Regions from separate parts of the Homo sapiens genome. Here region 2 is linked to region 1. The links are contacts of gene promoters, found by promoter capture Hi-C in human tissues and cell types (Jung and others, 2019). All regions are on one chromosome and are shown on one strand. The core of a region is centred on a gene start or on the middle of the fragment in contact, and the rest is flanking DNA. Distances in the headings are between cores, read along the strand shown.

Evidence for each region. Contacts are between HindIII fragments. The study calls those that stand out against the background at their distance.
Region 2: a contact is called between a fragment that was not itself captured here and the fragment with the promoter of NLRP10 in region 1, in 1 of the 25 tissues and cell types used here (pancreas).

Annotation. Positions count from the first base shown.
Region 1 is chr11:7,964,197-7,968,782 of GRCh38, reverse strand. NLRP10 (NLR family pyrin domain containing 10) reads left to right here and starts at 3,336. Exons shown (of 3, transcript NM_001391958.1): 1 at 3,336-3,537. The HindIII fragment of the contact is 5,237 bases long and covers 1,139-4,586 here.
Region 2 is chr11:8,005,553-8,010,414 of GRCh38, reverse strand. No RefSeq gene overlaps it. Among named protein-coding and RNA genes, the nearest start is that of CASC23, 8.5 kb to the left of the region's middle. The HindIII fragment of the contact is 4,444 bases long and covers 1,380-4,862 here.

The DNA of each region.
Region 1 (4,586 bases), core at 2,087-4,586:
ACTGTTCCTGTAAATTGTGTATTCAGTGAAAGGCTGATCAGAAACTAAAAATAATGCAACTGTTTATGTCTTATCTACCTATGACCTGGAAGCCCTCTCCCTGCTTTGACTTGTCCCACTTTTCTGGACTGAACCAATGTACGTCTTACATATATTGATTGATGTCTCATGTCTCCCTAAAATGTATAAAACCAAGCTGTGTCCCGACCACCTTAGGCACATTACTTCAGGACCTCCTGAGGCTGTGTCATAGGCACATCTTAACCTTGGCAAAATAAACTTTCTAAATTGATTGAGACCTGTCTCAGATACTTTTTGGTTTACAAAAGCCTTGTGACAATACTCTTGAGAAAAGACAGCTTCTAGCAGCAGAGACAGATACCTCCAAAATGGCCACAGGATCTCCTGTCTCAAGAAGACCTTTAAGCTTACCAAATCCATGTGCTAACTCCATCAAAACTGACCAAGGTATAAAGGAGAAGATGGTGACCTTTGGGGAGCCTGAGGGGACTGTCTCAAAGGGCCCTTGTATAAGAGGGGACAGACTGGGGTTGGAGCTCCTGCCTGTGTCAAAAAGAAGGCCTGGAAGCAAGAGGATGAAGACATGTGTTCAACTTTGCCTTGGGATCTGCCTCCATAGGTAGGGAAAGAGTATAATGAATGTGGGAACACTGCAGCTTGATTGAGAAACTCCAATTGCTTCACATGTTTTTCTCATTGCCCTTGTTTCTAACAGTTTGCTGTGAAAAAACACTGTGTATAGAGTGAGTGTGTAAGTATGTGTGTATGTGTGTATGGGAAAGTGAGAGACTCATACCTACCAGCTGGCTTCATCTCTCTCTGACTTTCTATTTTGTTTGCTCATTTTTCTGATATCTCTCTGTATCTCTTCTCTGACTCTTTACTCTTTTGATCTCTTGCTATTCCCAGGCTTGGTTTCTCTTTCTTTTGTCTCCACCCCTGCCCTTTTTGGGACTTAGTTGCAATTATCAGTGTTGCCTGTAGCCAGGCCAGGGTGGATAGGCAGGGAGGACTCATTTCATCTCTTGCCTCCACCCTCCAATTATAGTTGGTTCCATGCATCTCATTCCTCCTTTCTTCAGGTGTGATTCTGAATCTGGCACAGTGGTCTCCAGACCTGGTGCCTTTGCAGTAGGTGGCCTTTCTGCTCTCTCTGTCACCCTCACTACATAACTGTGTCTCACTCTTTTATCTTCCCATCTTGGTCTCTGGGTCCTGGTTCTTGGCAGTCTTGTTTTTGTCGCTAGCCTCATCTTGGTCAAGGCACTGGGAAAGGCCAGTCCCATTCCTGCCTGTTCCCCTGGACTCTGGGGTACTCCCTGAGCAGTGGGCACAAGAGGCCTTGGAGGAGGAGGAGAGGTGCACAGGAGGGAAGGCTTGCAGTGGCCTCCTTAAGGTGTCTCCTCTCCTCAACCACCCCTGCCCTCTCACTCATGGGAGATACTCTTACATGTACTTCACAGAGCATATGGAGACTCAGACATGACCATGCTTATCTTCTGACCACAAAACCCACACACCTGACTTTCTCTGCCAAACAACCTCTGTCACTTTCCTCAGGAATGAATGGATGCTGTTCCTTCCAGCCTCCTGTCAAAGGCCAATCTTTTGCCTTTGCTTCGAATCCTGTCCCAATCCCCATTCTCCATTCCCCCCTCTGGTGCTTGCCTTTCTCTTCTGCATTTCTAACCTGACCTCTCTATGGGAGGCTTTGTATCAGCATCCAGGTACATTCCTCCCTTTCCCATGTTAAAGCAAACAAAACCTTCTCTGGACTTCACATCTCCCATATTACCTCAGGACCTTTCTCATCACTTTTGTTACCAAGCTTCCAGAGAGATTTGTCTATACATGTTAACTCCATTTCTTTACCTCTTACTGTTTCTTTGCTAAGTTAATTTTTATCTTTTCAAAGTAATACATGGTTATGATTTCTAAAGTCAATAGGCATTAAAAAACTTATGCCCTGGAACAGTAGTCCTTTCCTCTCCTGATGCCCAGTCTCTTTTCGCTAAAACAACTATTAATACATTAGATTTTAACTATTTCTTCTTACATCTCTGCATTTTGAAGTAATATGTGTACTGTATATCACTATCTTTTGATTCAACATTTTAGGCATTGTCTATCAACTTCCTCTTCTAGTACATTCCACCACCATCCTTTCAATGTAATTATATTTTAAATTTTAGAGCAATGTTCAGTGGTTACACTATGATTTCTATGCAAACATTATTCACACTTGAGTATATTAGTTTACTATTATATTTCCAATTTTATTTTTTGTTTCTCCTCTTGCTAGTAATTTCTTTATTTTACTTTCATTTATCTGGTTTTCTTGGAAGTTACTGCTAGCTTTTTCCACCTTCTAATAGCCTCCCAATAGGCTGTTTTAGAAGGCCAATAGCATCAGCTAGTCTAGCAAGTCTTTTTTCTTTTTTCTTGGAGACATTCTTTTTGGAGAAACCTGTTCTCTTTCTGTCAGGGCTCTTGGGGATCCTCAGCTCTCTAGGCCAGAGGACTGGCTGCCTTCTGGGAATTTGTTTTTCTCCTTTTTCTTTTTTGTTTTTTTGAGACAAAGTCTTACTTTGTTGCCCAGGTTGGAGTGCAGTGGCACAATCTCAGCTCGCTGCAACCTCCGCCTCCTGGGTTCAAGCAATTTTCCTGCCTCAGCCTCCCTAGTAGCTGAGATTACAGGCATGCACCATGATTCCCGGCTAATTTGCGTATTTTTAGTAGAGACAGGGTTTCACCATGTTGATCAGGCTGGTCTCAAACTCCTGACATCAAATGATCCACGCACCTCAGCCTCCCAAAGTGCTGGGATTACAGGCGTGAACCACCATGCCTGGCCTGTTTTTCTCCTTGTTTGAATTCCTACTTCATGGAGCTCCTATCTTCTTCCTTTTTCATTCTCCAGTGATTTCAACAACTTAGAGAAATGGTGCACTGGCGGAGGATATGGTGGTGGCAGTGCTTCAATTCTTTCGTCTCTCTAGTCAAACTGCCCCAGCCTAGGCTGGGGTTAAGTGGTAGAGGAGGAGTGTGGGTTCCAGGGAGGGATGTGGGAAGTCTCCTGGGCTCTTTTTCTCTTGGTGACAGAATAGTTCATGCCTTCCACCCCTCCCTTGTTTCTCAACTTCAACATTTGAAAAAATGAGGTCAAGTTTCCCACTGGTGAGCAATTGCCCATCCCATTGACAGTCATCCCACTGACATTCAGTGGGTGGTTCTGCTTCACAGAGGCTTGGGGCAGATGGGGAGGGGCCCTTCTGTTCCAGGCCTATATACTAGGAACTGTTAGGTATCAAGCTGTAGCTGGTAGGTACCAGCACCACCAAACAGAAGTGAACTAGTGAGTATGGGCTAAGAGAGCCCAAACTTGGACCTGTAGAGCTGTCGGACCAGGAAAGGGGATCTGTTTCGTCTCAGTCCCCAGGCTTTGCTTACTGGGCTCCTGGATCAGGGAGCTGAGTTCTCGCTGCCTCACCTCCAGCTCCCCAAGTCTGAACTGTGGTAAGCAGCCTAGACTGGACATCTTCTTGGCAGGTTCTAGTGTTGTCTTTTCTTTCCTGAATTATTAAATAGCTCTGCCAACATCAGAAATTTGCAGGGAAGCCCTGAGTCTTCCCATGCAGCCTGAAGCTTTGTTGTAAATTGATCCTGCTTTCACAGGCCTGCTTTTCCAAACTGGCCTATGACTCACAACCAAAGTCCCCTGTATCCTAACATGTTCCAAACATTTTCTTTCTCTGTCAGTATGTAGTCAAAATGTTGGTATTTGAATGGCAACAACTCTCTGTGTTCCCAAATTCTCTTTTGAACACTCTCAATGATGAATGTGACATTGTACTACTGAGATGGGTTCCCTATGGGCCTTAGGTCACAGGTGTATTTCTGGATTCTGAAGGCTTTCTATTAATTGTTGCTTTTCTTTTCCAAAGACTGCCACCTGGCCTACATTTTGGTTCTACATTAGAAACACAATTCAAAACTCTGCTCTCCTTTCCCGTTACTTTAGTATTTATACATGTCTCCAGCTTCTGGCAACATTTAGCCTAACTTTCTGGTTCCTGACTCTGTCTTCTATTTCTTTATCTTTTGAGTTTTTTCTGTCTCTCTCTTCCACCCAGGGCATAGACCAGTTTAAATCCTGCCTCTTTGCCCGGTGGCCTAGCTCTGGAAAACTCTGAAAAACCATTTTTCTCTGACTGCCAAATTTCTCATGTGGAACAGTTCCTGAGACGATTTCTGAGATGATCAAAAAGGATATGTAAATCACCTGGCACAAAGTCAGCACTCACAGGTGGCGGTTCCTCTTCCTATCATTATCTGGATTTGTTTCCTTATTTGAATTAGGAGACTTCTAGCTTTGCAATCCCTGTGTGACTGAGGCCAGGAGGCTGACATGTGAGGCCAATGGGTTGAGTGTAGATTTTTTTTACCTTCTTGCCATACCACAGCAGTTCCAGCAAATGTGCTCCAGCTTTCTATAGGTTCACACAGCCAGGGACAGTCTCACTTTTAAAACTTAAAACTTGGCCGGGCACAGTAGCTCATGCCTG
Region 2 (4,862 bases), core at 2,352-4,851, 41 kb before region 1:
TGTATGTAGGGAGGCATGGCCTGAGGCAATAGTACACATGGACTTCTAGGCACTGGAGAACAACTCACTTGGGAGGTCACAGGCCTGTACGAAGCAAGACTGGAATATTGGAGAAGGAGGTATAGGGGAGATGCAAGTGGATGGACTAATGGGAGTGGGACAAGACTGTGCAGAGCTTTATGCCTCCTGTCAATGCCCATCAGAGAGCATCGGCTGTGCAGGGGGCACTCAATGAGCAGGTAGGAAGAAGGATTTGTCTGGTGATTATCAGTCAGTTTCAATTCTCAACCAACTAAGAGCTTGGGCCCATGAACGCAGCGGGAACAAGGCAGAGATGAAAGCTCTGTACAGGCCCAGCCACAGGGACTCCCTCTTACCAAGGCTTATTTACCTGCCATTGCTGCTGAATGCAGCAGAGAGACTGGATCCTGGTTATGGTGTCATTCCTTGATGGGACTGCCCCAGCACTTGGTGATAAGTTAATGACATCAGATTCCTTCCACCCTGAGGGGGCACAGTTTGTCCTTATTGACAAAGAAAAGATGGACACCTTTTCTGATTTATCTTCCTTTCTTGTTGTGCTTCACTAGTGGTTTATAGAGTGTCTAATTTTTTTTTTTTTTTTTTTTGAGACGGAGTCTCACTCTGTCGCCCAGGCTGAAGTGCAGTGGCACCGTCTCGGCTCACTGCAAGCTCCGCCTCCCGGGTTCATGCCATTCTCCTGCCTCAGCCTCCTGAGTAGCTGGGACTACAGGCGCCCGCCACCACGCCCGGCTAATTTTTTGTATTTTTAGTAAAGACGGGGTTTCACCGTGTTAGCCAGGATGGTCTCGATCTTCCGACCTCGTGATTCACCCGCCTCGGCCTCCCAAAGTGCTGGGATTACAGGCGTGAGCCACTGCGCCCGGCTATAGAGTATCTAATTTATCGGCATGGGATCCTGCATAATGAAGTCTCAGCTCAAGTGTCTATTTTATGATAAAGGATCATGAAAATGGTCTTGTAAAAAAAAAATGAGTCTTCTAATATATTGGATTATTTGTAAACAAGGGGTAGAAAGTGGGAGTGGCTTATTAAAGCCCAGGGAAGGAGCCAGCTTTGGGATGACACCCTGTGGGTTGGGTCACTGTCCTCCAAGTTGTAGTATATGCACTAAACTATCAGATGATATACAGTGCTGTGTTGGAACACACAGGGCCAGAGTAACCAACAGGTAGAAATAGTACTGGCCCCTTTCATCATCACCCCAGCCAGCTCCTTGCAGAAACTGTGCTTCCCATTTCTGCAGCAGGCTTCATTGCAACAGAGGTCCTGATTCTCAGGAAGAAATCTTCCACTGGTTAACATGAGAAGTTTTCCATTGACTCTATTGCTGGGTCACTTTGGGCTCCTCCTGCGAGTGGACCATCAGATAAGAAAAGTTACCATATTGGAGCTGGCAATCAACCCCCATTCTGAGAAGCTAAAGTGGCTGTTGCATAATGAGGCAGGGAGGATTCATCTGAAACTTGGTCGCTGGAGTGTCTTTTGGTGCCTTCATGCTGAGGGATAATGGTGCATAGCCAACCACAGCCAACAAAGTAGGGTAGTGGCAAGACAGTCAAGGGCCCAGGCCCTCAGGAAGAGCAGCCCAGACCAACTTTAGTGTTGACCAGGCATGAAAGAAATCTGGAATTGGTGGGTTGGAGGGGGAGCGGGGAGATGATGAATATTAATTGTGGCTGAGGACCAGCTGCCACAGGCGACTATAGTTTATTCCACTAATTCTACTCCTGAAAGTCCCTTTTCTTTTTTTAAGAGCTTGCATACTCGTAAAGAGTCCACACTCTAAAAGAGTCAGTGATAGTGTGGACTTGCTGTGGGGGAGGAGCAGATCTGAGCAGTGTAAGGGGGGTACCCTCTCTAACACTGGGGGTGCCTCCTTGATTTCAGCACTGTGGCGGTGGACAGCCCCACACGCAGGGCTCACATCGCACCTCAATCTCTCTTAATTAGCTAGGGAAGGATGCAGCCCTACTGTAGTTGTAGCCTCTAAATATGAGGAAGTTAGCCAGCCTCCCAGGAGAATTCTTCAGCCAGTGGGGTAACAGGCTAAATTCCCCAGCCTTCCAGTCCCTCAGTGGGAGAATTCTGAGGGGTATGTCACATGGCTCCTTGGAGGTTCCTCAGTGGGACTGAGTCCCTGTTGCTGCAGAAATAACCAGCTTGATACCTTCAGTTGCATTAAGTTCTTCCCATCCTAGTCTCCATTTGCTTTTACTTCTAAGATCATATTATGGGTTAGTTTTGTCCCCCTTAAAAGATATGTTGAAGTCCTGGCTGGGCGCGGTGGCTCATGCCTATAATCCCAGCACTTTGGGAGGCTGAGGCGGGCGGATCACCTGAGGTTGGGAGTTTGAGACCAGCCTGACCAACATGGAGAAACCCCATCCCTACTAAAAACACAAGAAATTAGCCAGGCATGGTGACACATGCCTGTAATCCCAGCTACTCAGGAGGCTGAGCCAGGAGAATCGCTTGAACCCAGGAGGCAGAGGTTGTGGTGAGCTGAGATTGTGCCATTGCACTCCAGCCTGGGCAACAAGAGTGAAACTCCATCTCAAAAAAATAAATAGATAAAATAAAAAAAAATAAAGGCTTTGGGGGCAGTATCAAAGACCGTTCCTTGATCTCAGACTTCTAGCCTCCAAGACTGAAAAAATAGATTTCTGTTGTCTTAAGCCACCAAATTTATGATACAACAGCCCCCTCTTATTCATGGTTTTATCCATGGTTTTGCTTTCTGCAGTTTCAGTTACATGCAGTACAGTACAGTTATTTTGAGAGGCTGGGGGGGGGGGAGAAAGAGAGACACTACATCCACATAACTTTTATTACAGTATATTGTTATAATTGTTCTGTTTTATATTAGTTATTGTTGTTAATGTCTTACTGTGCCTAATTTATAAATTAAACTTTATCATAGGTATGTATGTTTATGAAAAAACACAGTATATATAGAGTTCGATACCATCCATGGCTTCAGGTATCCACTGGGGGTCTTGGAATGTATCCCGCATGGATAAGGGTGAACTGTTGTACTTATTATGGTAACCATAGGAATCAAATGCAGATCACCTCACACGTAAACTATTTTTCCCCAAGTCTTTGCCACATGTTCTGTTGCAAGGGGACCCAAACTATGTCCTCCCTCCAGCTGAATTTTTATATCTAAATCTGGGGCTCCCATTGTCAGCTAACCATTACCTCTGTCTATCCCTTGCACTTCCAATCAACAAAGCAATTTTACTGGGACCATTGGACAGGATCCTATCTTGTACCTCTCACTTCTCTAACCTCCAGAATTTGGCAAGAGTCCCTCACTTTCCTGTCCAGAACTCTAGTACCATGTGGAAAGTCCAGGTTCTCTTATAAGCATCACCCTTTCCCTGGAAGGAAAGCTCCAGGAACCTCATTTTGGTTGTCAGGTCCTGAGCTAGGGTTTCTCCTGGGCAACAGCAGCTCCAGAATTTCTGTATAGAGGGGTTTGCAGATTATAATCTGATTGGAAGGGGAGTGGGCCATAGATTTACTTGAAACTGTGTTATCAAACCAAGTTTAGAAATACTATGTGTTTATTTGGAGTGATTTTGGGGGTGGGGATAGAGGAAGATGGTTTGGTTTCATCACTCTGTGGCTCAAAGGTGGCCAAGGGAAGCAGCTCCAAAAGCTTTGGTCACTTTTTTGGCACCATCCTGACCTCTCCAAAGCAGAAGGTGCTTTCTCTGGGCAGGCCCTCAGAAAACAGCTCAGGAACTAAGGGAATGCCACTGGCAACCTTTGGCCTTTAAGTGGTGTAAGGGTGTCCTCTAGTGGCCATGACTCAGAAAGCCTCTGGCATAGAGCAATGCTCCTGAGACTGGTGGCCTGTTATAGTTGGGACCAACATTGTGGGACAGAGACCATTATAAAATTGATGACCATCATCATGGGACAAAACTTAAGCAAAGTACTGGAAGACCCTAATGAGACAGAAAATACCTTCACAGGACTGACAGACAAGATGGATCAGACAAACTATTGTGGGACAAACATCTAATTCACAGCTTAGATCATCGCCATAGGCAACTGCTTGCCTTCTGGGAGACTTCGCTGGTGATAAGGGGAATAAGGGGGACAAACAAATGGAATTTTGTCAGCTTGCAAGTACTTGCATTACTGAGCATGCATGGATTCCTAGACTCTGCAACGAGAAGCAAGTCAGTGCTGGCAATTAGATTTCTATCTTAAACAACCTGGGTTCTCTTTGAACACTCCTGGAAATGCTGACTATATCTAGTATGTGGGGAAAATGCTAATTTCTTCATCAGATATGCTCAGAACCTGAAGTCACAGTTATAGGCTGCACCAAGTAAACTTTCAGTAAGAACTGATTCCTCGATGTTCTAAGGAGAGTGGAGTGAAGCTTGTTGGGGTTGAGTCTGGCTGTTGTTGGCAGCTCTGTGGGTGCTGGGAGGGGAAATAGTCTATCTGGGATGGATGGGGCAGAACCAGGTAAGACACCAGTGCCCTGCTGAAGCCCTTGTCTCATTACACTGTCCTGTGTCAGGGCAGGGAAGACTCAGTTTACCTGTTCAATCCTTCTTGCCAGAGCAAGAATCCAGCAAGACCCCCACACTTGCTTCCCTTCATGGGTCCAAAGATCTCTGTGGGCCACATTCTTCCCAGCTTTATAGCTTTCTGGTCCTTGCTAGAAACCCTCTGTACTGGCCTCCCAGGACTCTCCTGACCCATGAGACTCTAAATAATTCTCTCTCTTAGGATTCCAGCAGAGGTCAAGGCCTCACTTGCCTTCAAGCAGCCCACAGGCTCAGGAGTGGCCA